7 separate regions of the Homo sapiens genome follow, and all the other regions are linked to region 4. The links are contacts of gene promoters, found by promoter capture Hi-C in blood cells and fetal thymus (Javierre and others, 2016). All regions are on one chromosome and are shown on one strand. The core of a region is centred on a gene start or on the middle of the fragment in contact, and the rest is flanking DNA. Distances in the headings are between cores, read along the strand shown.

Region 1 (2,700 bases), core at 87-2,586, 650 kb before region 4:
TCTCTCATTGTGGTTTTGATTTGCATTTCCCTGATTACTAATGATGTGGAGCATCTTTTGTTGTCTTTGGCCATCTGCGTATCTTCTTTGAAGAAATGTCTGTTGAGGTCCTTTGTTCATTGAAATTTTGTTGTTGGGTTCTGAGTTCCTTATATATTCTGGGTACTAGGCCCTTATAATATTTTCGCCTATAAGTTTTTGCTTTATAATGTCCTCATTGTTTTCAAACTTACTTTATGTAATATGTACACTTCTAAAAAAAAGAAACATGGAAAAGGGCAAACTGTAAGAAGTTTTTTGTGTTATGTTTTTTGTGACAGTCTGTGCATATATACACAAATATAATGTATGTTCTCTCCTCCTCCCTCTCCCTTTTTTTACACAAAAGGTAGGTACAAACAGTGGTTTATAAACTGCTGCCATTGTACAGATACAGTTTAACCAGTCCTCTTCTGGGGACATTTGGCTGTTTGAAATTTTTTACTGTTACAGATATACAGAGGTTGGTAACTAGGTCTACACAAGTTGTATCTCCAGGATACTGAGAAGTAAAAGTTATTTCTGAATTATGGTTTTCTTCATATTTGGATATTGTTTCCTAATGATTATTAGGTATCTGCTAAGCAATTTTTATTAACTTATGTTGATTACTATTTTTATGTCAAACTTTACAGTCTAGGCATTTTTTTCTGGAATTAAAATTAGAAGTGGCACAGACTTTCATAAGGCTTTCCTTTTCTCATCTCTGTTAATACTGTTTTCTTTCTAATATCCTCAGAAATAACTGTTCTTAGCAAAGAAACAAGTTTTCAATATGCCATCTTTTCTAGTGTTACTAAATTTTTAACCCCTCTGGTTGTAGAAGGAAAGGTGTAACATGATTTTAGAGCAGAAAGCTAACAATTAAATCTTCAAGTTGGGCCGGGGTGCGGGTGGCTCACGCCTGTAATCCCATCACTTTGGGAGGCCGAGGCAGAGGAGGGCAGATCACCTGAGGTCAGGAGTTCGAGACCAGCCTGACCAACATGGTGAAACCTCATCTCTACTAAAAAATACAAAAATTAGCCAGGCATGGTGGCAGGCGCCTGTAATCCCAGCTACTCGGGAGGCTGAGGCAGGAGAATCACTTGAACCCAGGAGGCGGAGGTTGCAGTGAGCCGAGATTGCGCCATTGCACTCCAGCCTGGGCGACAGAGCAAGGCTCCCGTCTCAAAAAAAACTTCAAGTTTTAAGGTAAAACAGAGCTAAGGACTGTCCGGTGTCATGCTGTTTATGTCAGTGCTAAGATAGTACAAGTTTCCAGCTTCCCAGAGGAGGGTTCTCTATACTCACTGTACTTACCAATTCATGTTAAAGACCTTGAGAAAGCTACTTCTCTCTAGGTAGAGGTTCTGGGGAGCAGTGAGGTTGTGACTTCGTCTAACACTAACACAAATTACAAGTCTGTTTTACCAACTATTAAGTGAAGTCCTATATCTAGGGCCACTTAACAGTACTGGGGTACATTATATAGTGATTTTTTAAAGTACTTTAAAATTTTATTTTTGTTCATTTTTAAAGAATTGGCAGTAAATGCTTCCCATAAATAGCAATTAAATGGTATTATTATTGGAGGTGAATCTTTTGCATTATGGTAATTTTGTTATTCAGCATATGCCTTGATACTTTAATATCCCTGAGAATTTATTTCTCCCATACCTTCGGCAAGGAGAAATAAAGCACATAAATTAGGCATATGGTAACTCATCTGTAAAGGAATGTGTATTTTTCATGAGTCAGTGTGAACTCCCTTTTTGAACAGGGTACCATGTTACCACTTGAAATACAGAATATAAGGTCGGGCCTGGTGGCTCACACCTGTAATCCCTGCACTTTGGGAGGGCGAGGCAGGTCGATCACGAGGTCAAGAGTTCAAGACCAGCCTGGCCAATATAATTAAAACCCCATCTCTACTAAAAATACAAAAAATTAGCTGGGCATGGTGGCAGATGCCTGTAATCCCAGCTACTCAGGAGGCTGAGACAGAAGAATCGCCTGAACCCAGGCAGAGGCTGCAGTGTGCCAAGATCACACCACTGCACTCCACTCCACCCTGGGTAACAAGCAAAATTCCATCTCAAAAAAAAGAAAGAAAGAAAGAAAGAAAGAAAACGATATATGGATATATGCTATCATCCTTGCCTTCTAGGAGCATAAATTGTATTTGCTAAGATAAAACATTCCAAATAATGTTATTCTGCCCTGAGTTTGCAATCTAGTGTTCAGTTAACAGATAAAAGCATTTTGATCAACTACTATTTGAAGATGGTATCCAGGCCATCTACCATGAACTAAAGCAAGCTACCCTTTAAGTGATAATCTACTTCAAAAACAGCATTCTTTACAGTGGGGTTCCAAGAACCTGGTATCATACATACATTTTAACATAGCATCTTGGCAGCAGTATTTGGTATTAATTGGGGGAAAAATTAGTGATACCACTGGATTATTTAACTGCATAACTTTAAAGAAATTGGGCAATGTGAGTGAGAATCAAGACTTAGTAAAATAGGTTTGGATTAGGTTTCTATCTTTGAAAACAAAACAAGCACACTTAAAATGTACATTTATGTGATAAAATATGTAAGTAAAAAATAAGTCCCAACTTCACTGACATTGGTAGTGGACACTGTGGTGTGCTGCCCAGATACGCGCGCTCGC
Region 2 (2,700 bases), core at 41-2,540, 550 kb before region 4:
TGGTGGCACGTGCCTGTAGTCCCAGCTACGTAGTCGGGAGGCTGAGGCAGGAGAATCGCTTGAACCTGGAAGGCAAAGGTTGCAGTGAGCCAGGATTGTGCCACTGCACTCCAGCCTGGGTGACAGAGCAAGACTCCATTTCAAAAAAAAAAAAAAAAGTAGCCAGGCATGGTTGCAGGTGCCTGTAATCCCTGCTACTTGAGAGGCTGAGATGGAAGAATCGCTTGAACCTGGGAGATGGTGGTTGCAGTGAGCCAAGATCGTGCCACTGCACTCTAGCCTGGGCTGGTGAGTGAGACTCCGTCTCAAAAAAACAAAAAAAAGAAAAATATGATGTTCTTAATGTGTAAATTTTAGGAAATTTCCCCTATTACTCTTTTTAGTTTGATTTAATGTGTGTGTGTGTGTTGTTTTCAAAAAAATGTAAGTTGAATATATATTGAAAATATAAGTTGATGCGACAAAATAGACTTACAGCAAAATAGACTTATGCAGGTGAAAGCACCTGCAGAAAGCTGCGTTCTTTTTAACTCCTAAAAAACTCAGAGGCAAGGAGAAAAATGGGCTTCTCTGGATGCCAGATAGTGCATAAGACTTAGATTTGGTTACAGTAATTTTAGCATAATCCATTGTAAGCTGATGATCTGGATGAACTTCACAATAGTGAAGAAACTGGTTTTGAGATTTGGAGATTTTTTTCCCCTTCACTTGAAGGAATGTTGCTCACCACACCTCTTCTACTTGCCCCATGTTTTTAGATTAATGTTTCCTGGAGAAGTGAAACACACTGAGATTAGATAGCTGCATTCTGTAAGAAGTCTGACTATTGTGAGATTACCATGCTATAGGGAATGTGCAACCAGTCCCACATGTGCCAGCCTTCACGGGCTAGTCACTTGATTTGCAAGTCATCATAAACTTTCAGTCTTGGGGATGTGATTTGGAGAAGAGTGGAAGAACCCCACTGACAGCTAGAGCTAACACTCCAGACATATGGCCCCAGGTGAGCAGTCTCAGCCAGGTCCAATCGTTACGTCCACTCCAGATGAGGCCCCAGTCATCCTGGAGCAGGCATGAACAGTCCCTATAGTGGCCTGCCTAATTTCCTGACCCGAACTCATGAGCTTTATACAATGGTTGTTGTTTTTTAAAATGCTACAGGAGAACAGAAACTAGAAGCAGAGGCATAAAACAGAATAGGAAATACTGAACAAAATAAGGAATCATTGCACACAATTCTCAAATTGTGATTGTTAGTACTGTCAATTCAACTTTTTCATCTATTTATCCATTCATTCAGGAAAAATTTGTTGAGAGTGCTACAAGCTAGTTAGTGTGGGAGATATTGAAAAATGACTAAATTAGCTCTGATCTCAGCAAGTTCCTAGTTTAATGGGGGTGTCAGACAAGTAAACAATTAGCACACACTGTAATACAATGTTGCTCTATAGTAAGGGTTTGGAGAAGGAACTGATTGCTTTGAAGATGCAGAATCTCACAGCCTTGAGGGAATCAAAGAAATTCATAGGCACTCTGAGGCTCAAAGACTGAATAGAGGTTTATCAGATGGCCAGAGCAGGGCAGCTACTGAGTTCCCAACTCTTTAGATCTTGAAGCTAACACTATGGCTGCAAAGAACAGGACAGGTCCAGTTTGGACACTCTAGCTTCAATTGCTCCTGTGAGCTCAGAGTTTTTCTTTTTCTTTCCTGAGCAAAGCATTGATTACATAACCAGAATTTTTTTTTTTTTTTTTTTTTTTGAGACAGAGTCTCGCTCTGTCACCCAGGCTGGAGTGCAGTGGCGCGATCTTGGCTCACTGCAAGCTCCGCCTCCCAGGTTCACGCCATTCTCCTGCCTCAGCCTCCCGAGTAGCTGGGACTACAGGCGCCCACCACTGCGCCCAGCTAATTTTTTGTACTTTTTAGTAGAGACGGGGTTTCACCGTGTTAGCCAGGATGGTCTCGATCTCCTGACCTTGTGATCCGCCCGCCTCGGCCTCCCAAAGTGCTGGGCAGAATTTTTTTTTAATAAGAGCATTCATGGCCGGGTGCGGTGGCTCATGCCTGTAATTCCAGCACTTTGGGAGGCAGAGGTGCGTGGATCAATTGAGGTCAGGAGTTCGAGACGAGCCTGACCAATATGGTGAAACCCCATCTCTACTAAAAAGTACAAAAAAGTTAGCTGGGCGTGGTGGCACACACCTGTAGTCCCAGCTACTCGGGAGGCTGAGGCAAGAGAATTGCTTGAACCCAGGAGGCGGAGGTTGCAATGAGCCAAGATTGTGCCATTGTACTCCAGCCTGGGCGACAGAGTGAGACTCCATCCAAAAAAAAAAATGTATTCTATTTCATCTGTGTGTTGAAAAGAAACAGCTCATGGAGTGTGTGGCATTATTCAATGTAGACTCATCAAACAAGCACCCTATAGAAGCAAGGTCTGCTCAGCACAGGAGACAAGGACCTATTCCCAATAAAATTCAATCTAAGTAGGTATTTTGTTTGTTCATTTGTTTTAATGTGCTTTCTATACAAACATATCGCTTAAGACTAGTTTCCTGGGCCCTATATCCATCCAGATTGCTGTCCTAATCCCTTCTGATAGAAAATTTCTAGAGGTACTTAAGGGTAGACTGCATGCTGTGAGGATAAAAATAGAGTTGTCTTAACAATAGGGCAATAGAGCCATCATGAGAAAAAGA
Region 3 (2,874 bases), core at 233-2,732, 710 kb before region 4:
TCTTATGGGTTCAGCATAGGAGTCAGCATGCAGCAAATTCAAGCTTTACTTCTGGGACTTGGGGATTTTTTTCCCCCAAATATCTTTGATCTGCAGTTGGTTGAATCCACAGATGCTGAATCTTTGGATACAGAGGCCCAGTTGTAACTATGATCCAAGAATTTGTTATTTATTATGAGAGAATTTATTATAATGACTGCGATGGTAGTTTATAACTTATAAACTCTACCATATTTGGGAAATTCACAGTTACAAACATTTACCTATGAAGGGGGAGTGAGTAGTCATTCCTTCATTTTTTACAAATAAGCTGAGTCGTGGAGAATTTAAGTGATGTGTGTAGAAACTCACAGTAAGTAAGGCGTAGTCTTCATCACTCTTGTAGTACTGCATTATCTCTTTGTAAAGTTTTCAGGGTTTCTGTTTTATTAATGGTTATTAATTTTATTTATTTATTTATTTATTTATTTTTGAGATGGAGTCTGTCACCAGGCTGAAGTGCAGTGGTGCTATCTTGGCTCACTGCAGCCTCTGCCTCCTGGGTTCAAGTGATTCTCCTGCCTCAGCCTACCGAGTAACTGGGACTACAGGTGCATGCCACCACACCCAGCTAATTTTTTTGTATTTTTAGTAGAGACAGGGTTTCACCATGTTGGTCAGGATGGTATCGATTTCTTGACCTTGTGATCTGCCCACCTCAGCCTCCCAGAGTGCTGGGGATTACAGGCGTGAGCCACGGCGCCCAGCCAAAATTTGTTTTTTTGTTTGTTTGTTTGTTTTTTGAGACGAGGTCTCGCTGTGTTGTGCAGGCTGGAGTGCAGTGGCACCATCTCAGCTCACTGCAAGCTCTGCCTCCTGGGTTCATGCCATTCTCCTGCTTCAGCCTCCTGAGTAGCTGGGACTACAGGGGCCCGCCACCACGCCTGGCTAATTTTTTGTATTTTTAGTAGAGACAGAGTTTCACTGTGGTCTCGATCTTCTGACCTCATGATCTGCCCGCCTTGGCCTCCCAAAGTGCTGGGATTACAGGCGTGAGCCACTGCCCGGCCAAAATTTTTCTTTTTAAGCAATATTAGTTTAGGCTTGTAAGTAGCTCACTTAGGGTAAATATTCTAGCCAAGATCATGAAAAAATACATTGATTTCATTATGTTCTTAATCAGATCTGCATCAGATTACCATAAATAGGCAGCTATTCTTTCTTTTTTTCCACAGTTCATTGTATTCCTACCATTTCCAAATAGAAGTTTATGGTTTTAAATTACTGATGTTAAGTACTTGTTTGGAAGGAATTTATAGTTAAACTAGTTATAATAATTTATACCTGTCAAGCTCTTTCATATATAGTACATATTTTATCTCTCATTAGTTTCTGTAAGCTCTTGAGAGAAAGGTTCTTTTTTATTTCCACCTTTTAAGTTCAGGGGTACATGTGCAGGATGTGCAGGTTTGTTACATAGGTAATCGTGTGCCATGGTGGTTTGCTGCACACATCATCCCATCACCCAGGTATTAAGCCCAGCATTCACCAGCTGTTCTTCCTGATGCTCTTCCTCCTCCCACCCCCAACCCTCTGACAGGCCCCAGTGTGTGTTGTCCCCCCAACCACCGATGTGTCCATGTGTTCTCATCATGTACCTCCCACTTACAAATGAGAACATGCGGTATTTGGTTTTCTGTTCCTGTATTAGTTTGCTGAGGATAAAGGCCTCCAGCTCCATCTATGTTCATGCAAAGGACATGATCTTGTTCTTTATGGCTGCATAGTATTTCATGGTGTGTATGTACCACATTTTCTTTAGTCTGTCATTGATGGGCATTTAGGTTGATTGCATGTCTTCGCTATTGTGAATAGTGCTGCAGTTAACATATGCGTGCATGTATTGTTATAATAGAATGATTTATATTCCTTTGGGTATATATCCAGTAAGGGGATTGCTGGGTCAAATGGTATTTCTGCCTCTAGGTTTTTGAGGTATTGCCACACTGTCTTCCACAATGGTTGAACTAACACCACCAACAATGTAGAAGCATTCCAGAGAAAGGTTCTTTTATTTTTGTTTTGTTTTGTTCGAGACAGTCTCACTCTGTTGCCCAGACTGGAGTGCAGTGGCATGATCTCGGCTCACTGCAACCTCTGTCTCCTGGGTTCAAGTGATTCTCCTGCCTCAGCCTCCTGAGTAGCTGGGACTCCAGTCATGTGCCACCATGCCCGGCTAATTTTTGTATTTTTAGTAGAGATGAGGTTTCACTATGTTGGCCAGCTGGTCACGAACTTCTCACCTCAAGTGATCCACCCGCCTTGGCCTCCCAAAGTGCTGGGATTACAGACGTGAGCCACTCCGCCTGGCCTAATTCCAGAGAAAGGTTCTTATATGTTTTATGCTATAGTCCCATAGTATGGGACTACTACTATGTAGTAATTTTCAGTTCTGCTGAAAATGCTGTAGTCGTTACTACGTAGTAGGCGCAGAATATTTGTTTAATGAGTGATTCTCTATTAAAGGGTCATAAATTTGAAAGGTAAAGGTTAAGAACAATTTCTCTTTAGAGTTGTACAGATTAAAGGAAGTGAACTTTTTTTTTTTTTTTTTGTGAGATGGAGTTTCGCTCTTTCTGCCCAGGCTAGAGTGCAATGGCGCAATCTCGGCTCACTGCAACCTCTGCCTCCTAGGTTCAAGCGATTCTCCTGCCTCAGCCTCCCGAGTAGCTGGGATTACAGGCGTGCGCCACCACGCCTGGCTAATTTTGTATTTTTTTAGTAGAGACAAGGTTTCTCCATGTTGGCCAGGCTGGTCTTGAACTCCCGACCTCAGGTGATCTGCCCGCCTTGGCCTCCCAAAGTCTTGGGATTACAGGCATGAGCCACCGCACC
Region 4 (2,700 bases), core at 201-2,700:
TTTAATATTATTTTCATCAACCTCAAGTTTTTGGCCAGATTGTTTTTTGCCGAGTTCATGAACTACAATAATTTCTGGGCAAAAAGGATCTCTTGCAGATAAGACACTGTATTAAAAGAAACAAGGAAGCTGTTGGAATTCGTTGTTGGAAATATTCCTCACTCATTCCCTTGCAGTGCCTCGGCCTGCCCCCAAGACCAGTTAAACACTGTACTGCCACATCAAAGAAAGTACAGAAGAAGGGGGAAAATTTGCTAATTCTCACCTTGACAGTGAATAGATTTCTTATCACCCCAGTTCCTCCCAGTCTTGCAGACTCAACTGAATGTAGTTTATCGCCTAAAACAAAACAAGGAATAAAAGTGTTAACATACAGAACACTCACAGGAGAATTTAGCTGTTTTTAGTACCTGCCAGACAGCCCAGTTTATCCGGTTTAAAGTACAGTGCTGAGTGTACTCGGTGGGACAAAGGCCAATTTTAGGCCCGCAGGCACTTTCCAAATAAAGGTCATGGGAGCACAATTTATCTCTGCGTGTGCGAGGGCGTGCCCCCGCTTCGCCGCCCGTTAGCAGGTCTTGGGGTTTGCATGTCCTTGCTCTTGGCCTGCACCCGTCCTTATGGCCGTTGTGCAAGAGGGCTGCAATCAAGGCTGGATCGGTACCTCCTTCCAGGTCTCCACGCCCGCCCCTCCCCTCCCCTCCCCTCGCTGGTGCTGGGACCTTTTAAACTCCAGGCACCCGGAACTGGCGGGGGTGTTTCCCCCAGCCCCCTCTCGCCCCGTGTGGCCTAGCGACCCCTCTGAAGGCCGCTGGAGCTCCGCCCCTCCACGCCCCCTGGCGGACGCGAGGGATCGGCTTCAAGGCTATTCCTCGCCGCCTGAGTTGCCTGCAGACGCCCGTCTGCGGCTTACAGCCTTCTTTGCATCCAGCCCCCAGCTGCTGCACGTTTTCTTCCTCCTACACTCCAGGCTTAGTCTTCTACATGCATTCTTGCAACTTCCACCCCTCGATTTTCCAACCCAAGTGCAGACCTGATTTTCCCCTTGTCGTTGCATCCAACTTCCTCACCGCCCAGTTTCTCCCTCCCAGGCCCAAAAGCAGACCTTCTGCATATCCAAGCATCCAGCATCCCCTCCTTCCCTTTTCTTTTCCCATTCTCAATACCTGGATTTGTTCCCTTCTTTGCACGCAGGCCTTGACTCCCTCCACACCCAAGATCTGCGCTTTTTTCCTTTACCCCATTCCTGCCTTCTGCGGAATTAGAGCCACCCCTCCACAGCCAGGGACCGGGGCCGCCCCTTGGAGCCTGAGGTTACCTGCCGGGATGATATGCTGGCGAAGAGTTGGGGCGCCACAGCCGCTCACAAGCTCAGACTCACAACCACAGCCTGGCAATCCCAAACCGGACTCCCAGTGCCTCCGCTTCTGAAGTAGACTCTGCAGAAACCCGGGACCACAGGGTAGGTCCGAGCTTTTCCTCTTCCCGGCTTTGTCCCCTCCCAGGCCCCGCCTCCTCAGCCCACCTCCCCCAGCCCCGCCCCCGACACGCCTCCAATCGCCACACGCCAATTCCCGTGGGATGGGCGGAGTCAGCGAGAGGGGCGTGGCCACAGTCAAAGATGGAGAATCCATGGTGCCACTTTCCCGGTGATCCCGGTGGGGGAAGGGGTTGCCGCCCGGCAGAGATTCAGTCCCGAATCCCGACAGCGAAGAGACTTGTATGCCACCTGCAGGCCGGGGAGCGGGGCGCGCTGGGGCTGCACCACCCCGAACTTTGTAACAATCTAGAGCACCACAGAGTGTTTCCAGGTCGGCACAAAAGCGAACGGGACAGGGCGCCCTGGGCGGCGGCAGCTTGGCCGGCCCGCTGCCTAGCGCGCCCCCGAGGGGCGGTAATGGAACGTACCTTTGGCTGAAGAAAGAGTGCTCCCGGCCAGCGCGGGGTCGCCTAGGGGGTTCCGCGCTGCCTAATGCAAAGGATGGAAAAGTTACAGAAGCAGGTCCTGACACCACCTATGTCTAGGTCTTTAGAAACTCCATTGATTGTTTGCATTAGAAGATAATGAATGGGATTCTTATTATTTTCTTTTTTAAGACAGGGCCTTGCTCTGTTGCCCTGGCTGGAGTGCAGTGGAGCGATCACCGCTCACTGCAGCCTTGACTTCCTGGGCTCAAGAGATCCTCCCACCTCAGCCTTCCGAGTAGCTGGGATTACAGGTGCACACAATCACACTCAACTAATTTTTCTTTCTTTCTTTTCTTTTCTTTTTCCTTTGGTAGAGATGGGTTTCAGCAGCCCAGGCTGGTCTCGAACTCCTGGACTCAAGTGATTGGCCCTCCTCGGCCTCCCAAAGTCCTGGGATTACAAGCGTGAGCCACCATGCTCAGTTGGCGGGGGATTATCTGTGATCCAATGAAGTTGGACTAGAGATGTGAAGCCTTAGAAAACGGTGGATTGAAAAAAGAATTTTAGTCTCCTCCAGAGATTATATTTTGTGTGTTCATTGCTCTCAAAAACATGAAAATAAAGAGTATTTTATATTGTGATTTGTAGGACAATAGCATGCTTGTATATTGCTGCCCAGAATTTAATGCTCCAATATTTATTTATTTATTTATTTATTTATGAGACAGAGTCTTGCCCTGACAGGCTGGTGCAGTCTCGGCTCACTGCAACTTCCGCCTCCTGGGTTCAAGT
Region 5 (2,837 bases), core at 14-2,513, 530 kb before region 4:
TTTCAGATATATGGCATATAGGATTAGAATTTATAGAATGACTCATGGGCTTCTTTGGATACTGCCTTTTTTCCACCTTTTTTTCAGTTAATTAAGCTTTAGAGTTAAAATAATAACATTGGATAATGAAAAATGAAATGGAGGTACTTGTAACCCAGACTTTTTTTTTTTTTTTCTTTTCTCTGTATGAGACAGGGTCACAACTCTGCCTGTCGCCCAGGCTGGAGCACAGTAGTGCCATTAGAGCTCACTGTAACCTCAAATCCCTGGGCTCAAGTTATCCTGCCACTTCAGCCTCCCAAATAGCTGGAACTACAGGCATGTGCCTCCACACCCAACTAATCTTTTAAAAAATTTTTGTAGAGATGGGGGTCTCACTATGTTATGTTGCCCAGGCTGGTCTTGAACTGTTCTCAAGTGATCCTTCTGCCTCAGCCTCCCAGAGTGCTGGGATTACAGGTGTGAGTCACTGCACTCCACCCAGAAATACTCTTAAAAGTCTAAAAAAGGAGTTAAGTGCTATTAAGAAATACACAAAGGGAGAAAGGTATACTATAGCATATGAAATGTCACAGCTCAGTCACGATCACTAAAACATAGATTGAGGCGTGAAGGTAAGTTAAAGCAAGACTGAACACTGACATAGAAGGAGGTAGAGCAGTGTTTCGGAAACCAGATTTAGGATTGTCAGAAGCTAGGAAAGCAAAAGCAAGGCATGAGTGAGCATGAGACTGGAGCTTGGCTGGTACTGTGTGACCTCAGATGAGGCAGGGCAGCTCAAGACCCATCAGGTAAGACTTACCTGATGGGTGGAACGTGTGAACTTAGATAAAATCTCAGCGTTTACATCATAGTTGAGAGGTTTGAAATGTTTGTGTTATGGACCGTAAGACTAATACAGTGTGCAGTATGGTAGAGCAGGTCAGTAAATGCAGTAAGCCTTTAAATAAACAGATGCCCAGCAGTTGGCCCAGAAACTGCCAATGTCTCCTGTTTAATTGGGATATATTGAAATCAATATGTTGAACTCAATCTCTTTCTCTGAAATATGCTGCTTCTGTCAGTTACTTTCTTGGTTGCTGCCCTCTCCCTTTAATATTTTGACAAGAAAAATAATTTCTTTACAGTTTACAATTGCATAATTTTAACACTTTTAGCCTTTAGTAATAATGCATTTCATTTATTCTAAGTTCCATATTTTTACATTTTTAATTAACATCTGTGAAATTGAGATGGCTGATAGATTCAAGGAGAAGCAGTGTTCAATGTCAGTGGATCTTACAGATTTCTTCCCCTGAGGGGGGTGTTTATATTAAGACCTGAGTTTAATTTTTTTTTGTCTTACTTGCCCCCCATCATACTATCATGCTTTCGAATTAAGTTGCAATTTAAATTGATAATACAAAACTGGTGGGTCTTAAAATACAATTTTATACATAACCCCTAACCATGATATCAAAAACTATTTCTTCTAGTTTCAAACATTCTTAGGAGTTTTTTGTTTTTTTTTTTTTTGTTTTGAGACAGAGTCTTGCTCTGTTGCCAGGCTGGAGTGCAGTGGCGCCATCTCGGCTCACTGCAACCTCTGCCTCCTGAGCTCAAGCAATTCTCCTGCCTCAGCCTCGGTGGCAGCTCCTGGCTGGCTAGCAGTGCTAGAGTACAGCCCTGCCTTTCTCCTTTGGTTCTTGGGAAGTCCCAAGAGAAATGTAATTGATTGGCCAGCTGTAAGTCACATGCCCACCCTAAAACCCCTGAGTTGAGGGAGTGCCAGCTTGTTACTTGGGCTTATTTGGCTTTTTTCTCTATATCTTATCATTTCTGTTATCCTAGTTGCCTTGGATTTTTTTTTTTTTTTTTGAGATGTAGTCTTGCTCTGTTGACCAGGCTGGGGGGCAGTGGTGTGATCTTGGTTCACTGCAACCTCTGCCTCCTGGGTTCAAGCGATTCTTCTGCTTCAGCCTCCCGAGTAGCTGGGACTAGAGGTGCACGCCATCACGCCTGGCTGATTTTTTTGTATTTTTAGTAGAGATGGGGTTTCACTGGGTTGGTCAGGCTGGTCTCGAACTCCTGACCTCATGATCTGCCAGCCTCAGCCTCCCAAAGTATTGGGATTACAGGCATGAGCCACCATGCCCAGCCGCCTTGGATATTTCTTATATTTACACAGTAGCACATCTTGGTTTTCTTATATTTAAATACATAGTAGCACATCTTGATTTGGGGCGGGGGAGGTGTGTGTGTGAAGCCTGCTCCTCTTTGATTTTGGTACTTAATTTTCCTGGACTTCATTGAAAATTCCTAATTAAACTTTATCATGACATAGGTACTGATTCATAATATGGCTTCTTCTGTAAACATTAGTTATTTTTTAGATTCAAATGGTAGTATATTTGCTTTCTTTTTGAAAGGAAGTAGTCATGAATCCTTTTAGAAGCTTTAGGTAGAGGCTGGGTGTGGTGGCTCACGCCTGTAATCCCAGAACTTTGGGAGGCCGAGGGGGGCAGATCACAAGGTCAGGAGTTTGAGACCAGCCTGGCCAGCATGGTGAAACCCAGTCCCTACTAAAAATACAAAAATTAGCCGGGCATGGTGATGCGTGCCTGTAGTCCCAGCTAGTTGGGAGGCTGAGGCAGGAGAATCACTTGAACCCGGGAGGTGGAGGTTGCAGTGAGCCAAGATTGCACCACAGCACTCCAGCCTGGGCGAAAGAGTGAGACTCTTCTCTCGGAAAAAAAAAAAAAGGAGCTTTAGGTAGAGGCAGCTGTGAAAGTCTCTGCCTGTCATTTTGTGCACAAATGATTTTATTTTTCCAAATAGCTTAAAATTGTCACGTCATC
Region 6 (2,761 bases), core at 253-2,752, 750 kb before region 4:
CCCTCTCTGCCTTGGGCAGTATCTCAGCATCTCTTCTCTGGCTCCAGCTCCCAACAGATGACCCTAGTGCCTCCTCTTCGGTTTAAAAAAAAAAAAATACGACCTCCTCCCTGTTGACCTCCAGTTTAGAAGTGGTACTGGTTTTCTGCTATCACAATTCTTTGGATTATCTCACCATCCATTGTTTGGCTTCTCAGCTCTTTTGTCTCCTGTATAACCAGTTCCCTGCATATTCCCTCTGTTTCAAATGCTCAGCAGGGTTTCTCTTTTCTGGATTATACTTTTCTGGTATACTGACATATTCCCTATTTGTCATAACTGGCTCAGTAACTGGGATGAGTCTAGATATATAGATGGAGCCCAGGCACAGAGGCTGAAAGCTAGAGGACTCATAAGCAGAGGTTTCTCCAAGAGAATACCAGGAATTGTATTACATTTGTTCTCCACTTATTGACAACTTATTGGTCCATCTTGTTATCAAATTTGCACTTGTTTGATTTATTCACTGTCTATGGCTCACCTATTTTTCAGGTAGACCTCTAACTGACATCAAGACAAAACATGCCTTTATCACCAGCTTCTTCAGCTGTTGTCATAACTGTAAGCTACTATTGGATTCGTCACACTGCAAATACCTCATGTTCTCACTTATAAGTGGAAGCTAAATGATGAGAACACACGGACACACAGAGGGGAATAACACACACTGGGGCCTATTGGAGGGTGGAGGGTGGGAGGAGGGAGAGGATCAGGAAAAATACCTAATAGGATTAATACCTGGGTGATGAAATGAGACAAGTTTACTTGTGTAACAAACCTGCAGCTTACCTACGTAACCTATTACCCCTGAACTTAAAAGTTTAAAAAAAAATGTGCTTGCTAATATGAAATGGTTGGGGAGAAAAGAGGGACTAAGGAAGACAGGATGGGACACTAACACCGAGGAGCCTTCAACAGCCTGTGGATATTCCTGGGGATCCTATCAGCCAGCTGGGGGTGGAGGAGGAGCCACAGGCAGAGCCTTTCAAGAGGCAAATGCCCGTCCAGCTCTGGCCCCAGTTTTCCTTACGGCAGCCTCTGCTTAACTATAAAATCTATACTGAGTAGATTACCATGACTACCGCAGAAAGACCTCCACCTCTAGTTTGGCTGCAAAACTAAGTCTTTTCTTCCAAGAGCCTTTGGCTTTAGGAGGGAGCACCAGGAGGCAGACTGCAGCCACTGGCTCACTGCCCTACATGCCAGGGCCTTCTGCAGAACCGCAATAGTTACAAGTCAAGCTTCCTTTCCTCAGCCCATACCACCAAAGCAATGGGCTGTTGGCGTGCCCTGACAGCAGGAGGAGAAGCCCCACTGTCAGGGGGTAAAAAGAAACGACACAGTTCCCACTTCTTCACTCTACGTGATAAATCACTTCAGCTGGGAGAACTGTCATGAAACGACCTGGCAGCTAATGAGAGAAATGGAACCCAAAAAAAGAAAGAAAGGAAGAAAGAATCCTGTTAGTCACAGAGCTTTTCATCTGAACCGCAGAACAGGCTCGTGCTTTTTGCTTTCTGTGGGAATAATAAAATCACAGTCCTGTAACTATATTAGCTCCTCAAACAAAAGTAACTCCCTAGAATAAAATTATGAGGGGTTTCTGAGTTGGATTTAGTTTTCACTGGGTAAAGGCATAAATTAAAAGGAGGAACCGGGTACCCTTAAGAAAGTCAATGAAGTAACTAAGCTTGCTATTCAAACCAGGAAAACACAGGCTGTGAGGCAGCTTCACTCTGCAGTCTATTCAACACCTGGCGAACAAAACAACACTGACTCTGCCCAAGCCGGGATTTTCCCACAGTGGACCAGCAATTTCAGAGGCCCCTAGAATGCCAGGACTGTGTCTTAGACCTTGGAAAATAGGATGAAAAGGACAGGCTCAAAGGGATATTTAGTTCCAAAGGAAAATCACAAAAGCTAAAAGTTATTATAAGAGAAAGGCCCTAAAGCACATTACTGGAGATAAAATTTTAAGGGTAAATAAATACCCTTTGTGGAAAAGTGTTTAGGAAAAAACACAAAGAGAGCATGAATACCATATTATAGGTACAATATGTTCTATCCAAAATAAAAAGTAGGTTCAGAATCACATCAGCCTAATCATGCCTCCTAAGCAGCAGGCTATGTGAGGTAGAGAAATGTGGGCTCAGTACCTCTATCCCACATTCTTCATCCTCCCCTGCTCCACCACACCCACCTCCTGCCTTTCAGAACCGCCTTCCTCCAAAGACACCCAGGAACCTCAGAAAGAATGCTTCTCTAAATTATTCATACCACAGTGCTACTTCCTGTCCTTTCCTTCCAAGAAATATTTGCTATGTTAAAACCCAGTGAAAGTGAGCAATGCTTGAAACAAATAGTGAATCACTCCTGGTAATATTTCAGGCACTGGTAAAAATTTCATTGGATGGGGGAGGGAAAGAGGAGTCTCTTTCTCATACTCTAAATTATACCACATATAAAAACAGACTATAAACATGACCTCTTTTATGTGGAAATTCACATTGCATAGGTAGAACATTATTTTTTTAAATGCTGACTTTCAAAAGTTGACATCAACTTTCAATCAAAATACTCATGTATTTAAAGAAGACCAGCAGAAAAATATTTATGAACTTATTTTCAACTTGTCCCCATTTTTGAACTTTTTTATCAGTGAAGAAATGGAAACATTTTTTCAATAACCAACAAACCTTTCTAAAACCCTGTTTGATCTTGC
Region 7 (2,754 bases), core at 225-2,724, 620 kb before region 4:
CCCCATCTGCACACCCTCAGAGGTGGGCAAACTGGAGAAGCTGGATCCCTGAGTCATTGCTTAGAGGAGAGTTGCTCAACTCACAGTGGATTGTGACATGAGCAAGAAATCAATCTTTGTCATGTTAACCACTGACATTTGGAATTTATTCACTATTGTAGCATATAGCCTATCTCCATTAATACACAAGGGCAGGCCATTTGAGCTGGGGAAAGGAGAGGGCTCTGAAGAGGTGACATTTAAATGGAAATTTAAAAGAGTAGAAGAAAACAGCCACTTGAAGAGCCAAGGGAATGGCATTTCAAGCAAGGGAACAGAAACTGCAAAAGCCCCCAGGCAGAAGAAACTGTCAACTGACCAGCCAGGAGCAAGGGGTAAGTGGCACAAGATAACTCTTAAGATTAAGTCAAACAGAAGAATGAAAGCTTTGAACTACCCAAACTCCACTAACAACTTACACCCTGCAGGAGAGGTATTTTTGCATCATCACTACACAACTCTCTGTGTGAGTCACAGACCCTGGGTGCCCTCAAGGGTGAGGCTGGCTGCCCTGAAGACACTACCATACAGCTAAGGAGTTGGCTTAAGGATATTCAAAAAGCCTTAAGGAATAAAGCTCCAGCTGGTGCTAAAGAAAGACAACCATAGACAGAGTCTTGGTATAACTGTGTTCACCACTGTCTTTTTTAAGTTCTTGTCTAGCTTCTCAGTATTTCCGTAAGACCTGACTGCAGAGAGAAAAAACAAGACAACTGCTCAGCGCTACCTTGAGGGAATATGCAGCATAAATAGCTACATTTGGATTTTTCATTTTGCTGATGAAATCGCATTTTTGATCACAGCTCCTGGACAACTGCAGCCATGCCTGATGCTCTTGTTCTACAACAAAATAGAAGCAGCAGCTAGGGGAGAAGTTTCCAGACTTGTGTTCTGTTGGGTTTTAGAGTCACATCTGTGGCTTTCAGCTGGAAACGGCTGGACAACTATTTGTTGAATGAATGAATGAATGAATGAATGAATGAATGTTACAATACATCACATCAAATTATTGCCCACCTCACTCCAAAAGTGTTTAAATGCGAATTCAACTTATTAGATACCTTTGAGTTAATGATGCTGAAGAATTTGTAGTTACTTTCATTATTTGTGTTTCATTAACCTAGGGTTCAATAATATTCCCAGGTATAGTACATGTTTGGGTAAGAAGCTATTGACTGTCTTATCTTTTGATGATTCCAAGAAAAGGTATGAAGCCATTTGCCTTTTCATAATTTATAGGTTAATTTGTGTGTAATTAGAAAAGCAGGTACATTTTAAGTAAGTCAAACCAAAAGACAACATCAAGAAGAGAATAGTAAATAGTCAAGTGAAAGTGCTAGCTTGTAATTCCAAGAGCTCATGTATTTGAGCAGTGCCTCTTCCCAGGTGACACAGGGCATTTTGAGTTCAGGTTTTCCTGGTGGTATGTACAGGAGTGGGAGCGGAGTTACATGCTAATGTGACCAGAGAGGATGCAGTGCTGAGGATCCAGGGCAGGATGGAGGCAGTGTCCCCGACTGGCAGCCTCCAAAAAGCCTTGACCTACAGATGTGTTTTGTGTGTCCCATGCAGACTTGGCTCTCATGGTGTTTTGTTTTTTAGTTTAGTGTCAATATTTGAAAGTAAGGAGATGTATCTTAGTCCATTTTGTGCTGCTATAGAAGAATTACCGGCTGGGCGAGGTGGCTCACGCCTGTAATCCCAACACTTTGGGAGGCCAAGGCGGGCAGATCACGAGGTCAAGAGTTTGAGACCAGCCTGACCAACATAGTGAAACCCTGTCTCTACTAAAAATACAAAAATTAGCTGGGCATAGTGGCGTGCACCTGTAATCCCAGCTACTTCGGAGGCTGGGGCAGGAGAATCACTTGAACTCAGGAGGTGGAGGTTGCAGTGAGCCAAGATCGCACCACTGTATTCCAGCCTGGGTGACAGGGCGAGACTCCATCTCAAAAAAAAAAAAAGAATTATCTAAGACTGAGTAATTTATAATGAGCAGAAATTTATTGACTTCTGGTTCTGGAGGCTAGAACGTCCAAGATCAAGGGGCTGGCATCTGGGGAGAACCTTCTTGCTGTGCTATCCCATGAAGGAAACACAAAGAAGGAGTGAGAGAGAGCAAGAGTTCAAACTTGCACCCTCAAGCCCTTTTATAATCATTATTAATCCATTCATGAGGGTGGAGCCTTATGACCTAAATACCTCCATTAGGCCCCACCTCCCAACACTGATTAAGTTTCCAATGCATGCCTTTTGGGGGAACACATTCAAACCATAGCAAGATGTCAGATAAAAATCAAGATAGTAAAATTAAGATAATTATTTGAAATGGCTTTCTTTGAAAATTTTGAAATATCTGGCAAACATGGGTCCAAATGCCCACAAGATGGCAATGAGCTAGAGCCAAGCTGGCTCTTCCTTTGGACATTATGGTCTCCCCTCAGTGTGCCGCGGTCCCCTCCCCTGCTTGTTGTCTTGTCCCCACAAGCTTCATTCATTTACTTACGATACTGTCAGGGTCTGTGACGGAGCACCAGTAAACAGCCTCTCACTTTATTTTCTCTGGGTTCTAAACAAGCTGAGAAATAAAACAACGACTAAAGCTGAAGGCAAAAACATCCCCTCTATTTACTGAGACAGAAGAAGTTGGAGGGCGAGGCTTATATCTGCAGGCAGATGGACCTACGAAGAACGAAGAACGCTAAGGTGACTCAT

The links. The method cuts DNA at HindIII sites, captures the fragments that hold promoters and counts their contacts. A CHiCAGO score of 5 or more calls a contact.
Region 1: a contact is called between a fragment that was not itself captured here and the fragment with the promoter of IDH1 in region 4, in 2 of 17 cell types (neutrophils and naive CD8 T cells). The highest score is 5.4, in neutrophils.
Region 2: a fragment that was not itself captured here is called in contact with the fragment with the promoter of IDH1 in region 4 in 1 of 17 cell types (naive CD8 T cells); the score reaches 6.4 in naive CD8 T cells.
Region 3: a fragment that was not itself captured here is called in contact with the fragment with the promoter of IDH1 in region 4 in 1 of 17 cell types (total CD8 T cells); the score reaches 6.0 in total CD8 T cells.
Region 5: a fragment that was not itself captured here is called in contact with the fragment with the promoter of IDH1 in region 4 in 4 of 17 cell types (total CD8 T cells, naive CD8 T cells, fetal thymus and 1 more); the score reaches 7.9 in total CD8 T cells.
Region 6: a fragment that was not itself captured here is called in contact with the fragment with the promoter of IDH1 in region 4 in 3 of 17 cell types (total CD4 T cells, total B cells and monocytes); the score reaches 5.7 in total CD4 T cells.
Region 7: a fragment that was not itself captured here is called in contact with the fragment with the promoter of IDH1 in region 4 in 3 of 17 cell types (monocytes, fetal thymus and M2 macrophages); the score reaches 7.5 in monocytes.

Annotation. Positions count from the first base shown.
Region 1 is chr2:207,605,272-207,607,971 of GRCh38, forward strand. It overlaps CREB1 (cAMP responsive element binding protein 1), which reads left to right. Exons shown (of 8, transcript NM_004379.5): 8 at 1-717. It also overlaps a transcript of METTL21A not described here. Among named protein-coding and RNA genes, the nearest start is that of METTL21A, 19 kb to the right of the region's middle. The HindIII fragment of the contact is 6,145 bases long and covers 1-2,700 here.
Region 2 is chr2:207,703,443-207,706,142 of GRCh38, forward strand. No RefSeq gene overlaps it. Among named protein-coding and RNA genes, the nearest start is that of CCNYL1, 6.8 kb to the right of the region's middle. The HindIII fragment of the contact is 7,671 bases long and covers 1-2,700 here.
Region 3 is chr2:207,543,156-207,546,029 of GRCh38, forward strand. The region is part of intron 1 of CREB1 (cAMP responsive element binding protein 1); the gene reads left to right. Among named protein-coding and RNA genes, the nearest start is that of CREB1, 15 kb to the left of the region's middle. The HindIII fragment of the contact is 2,882 bases long and covers 42-2,874 here.
Region 4 is chr2:208,253,621-208,256,320 of GRCh38, forward strand. IDH1 (isocitrate dehydrogenase (NADP(+)) 1) reads right to left here and starts at 1,451. Exons shown (of 10, transcript NM_005896.4): 1 at 1,319-1,451; 2 at 266-339. IDH1-AS1 (IDH1 antisense RNA 1) reads left to right here and starts at 1,613. Exons shown (of 2, transcript NR_046452.1): 1 at 1,613-1,811; 2 at 2,283-2,574. RefSeq lists a silencer at 596-705 and an enhancer at 1,159-1,685. The HindIII fragment of the contact is 4,060 bases long and covers 1-2,700 here.
Region 5 is chr2:207,720,234-207,723,070 of GRCh38, forward strand. The region is part of intron 1 of CCNYL1 (cyclin Y like 1); the gene reads left to right. Among named protein-coding and RNA genes, the nearest start is that of CCNYL1, 10 kb to the left of the region's middle. The HindIII fragment of the contact is 2,338 bases long and covers 95-2,432 here.
Region 6 is chr2:207,503,614-207,506,374 of GRCh38, forward strand. No RefSeq gene overlaps it. Among named protein-coding and RNA genes, the nearest start is that of CREB1, 25 kb to the right of the region's middle. The HindIII fragment of the contact is 449 bases long and covers 1,279-1,727 here.
Region 7 is chr2:207,632,866-207,635,619 of GRCh38, forward strand. No RefSeq gene overlaps it. Among named protein-coding and RNA genes, the nearest start is that of METTL21A, 8.8 kb to the left of the region's middle. The HindIII fragment of the contact is 2,102 bases long and covers 424-2,525 here.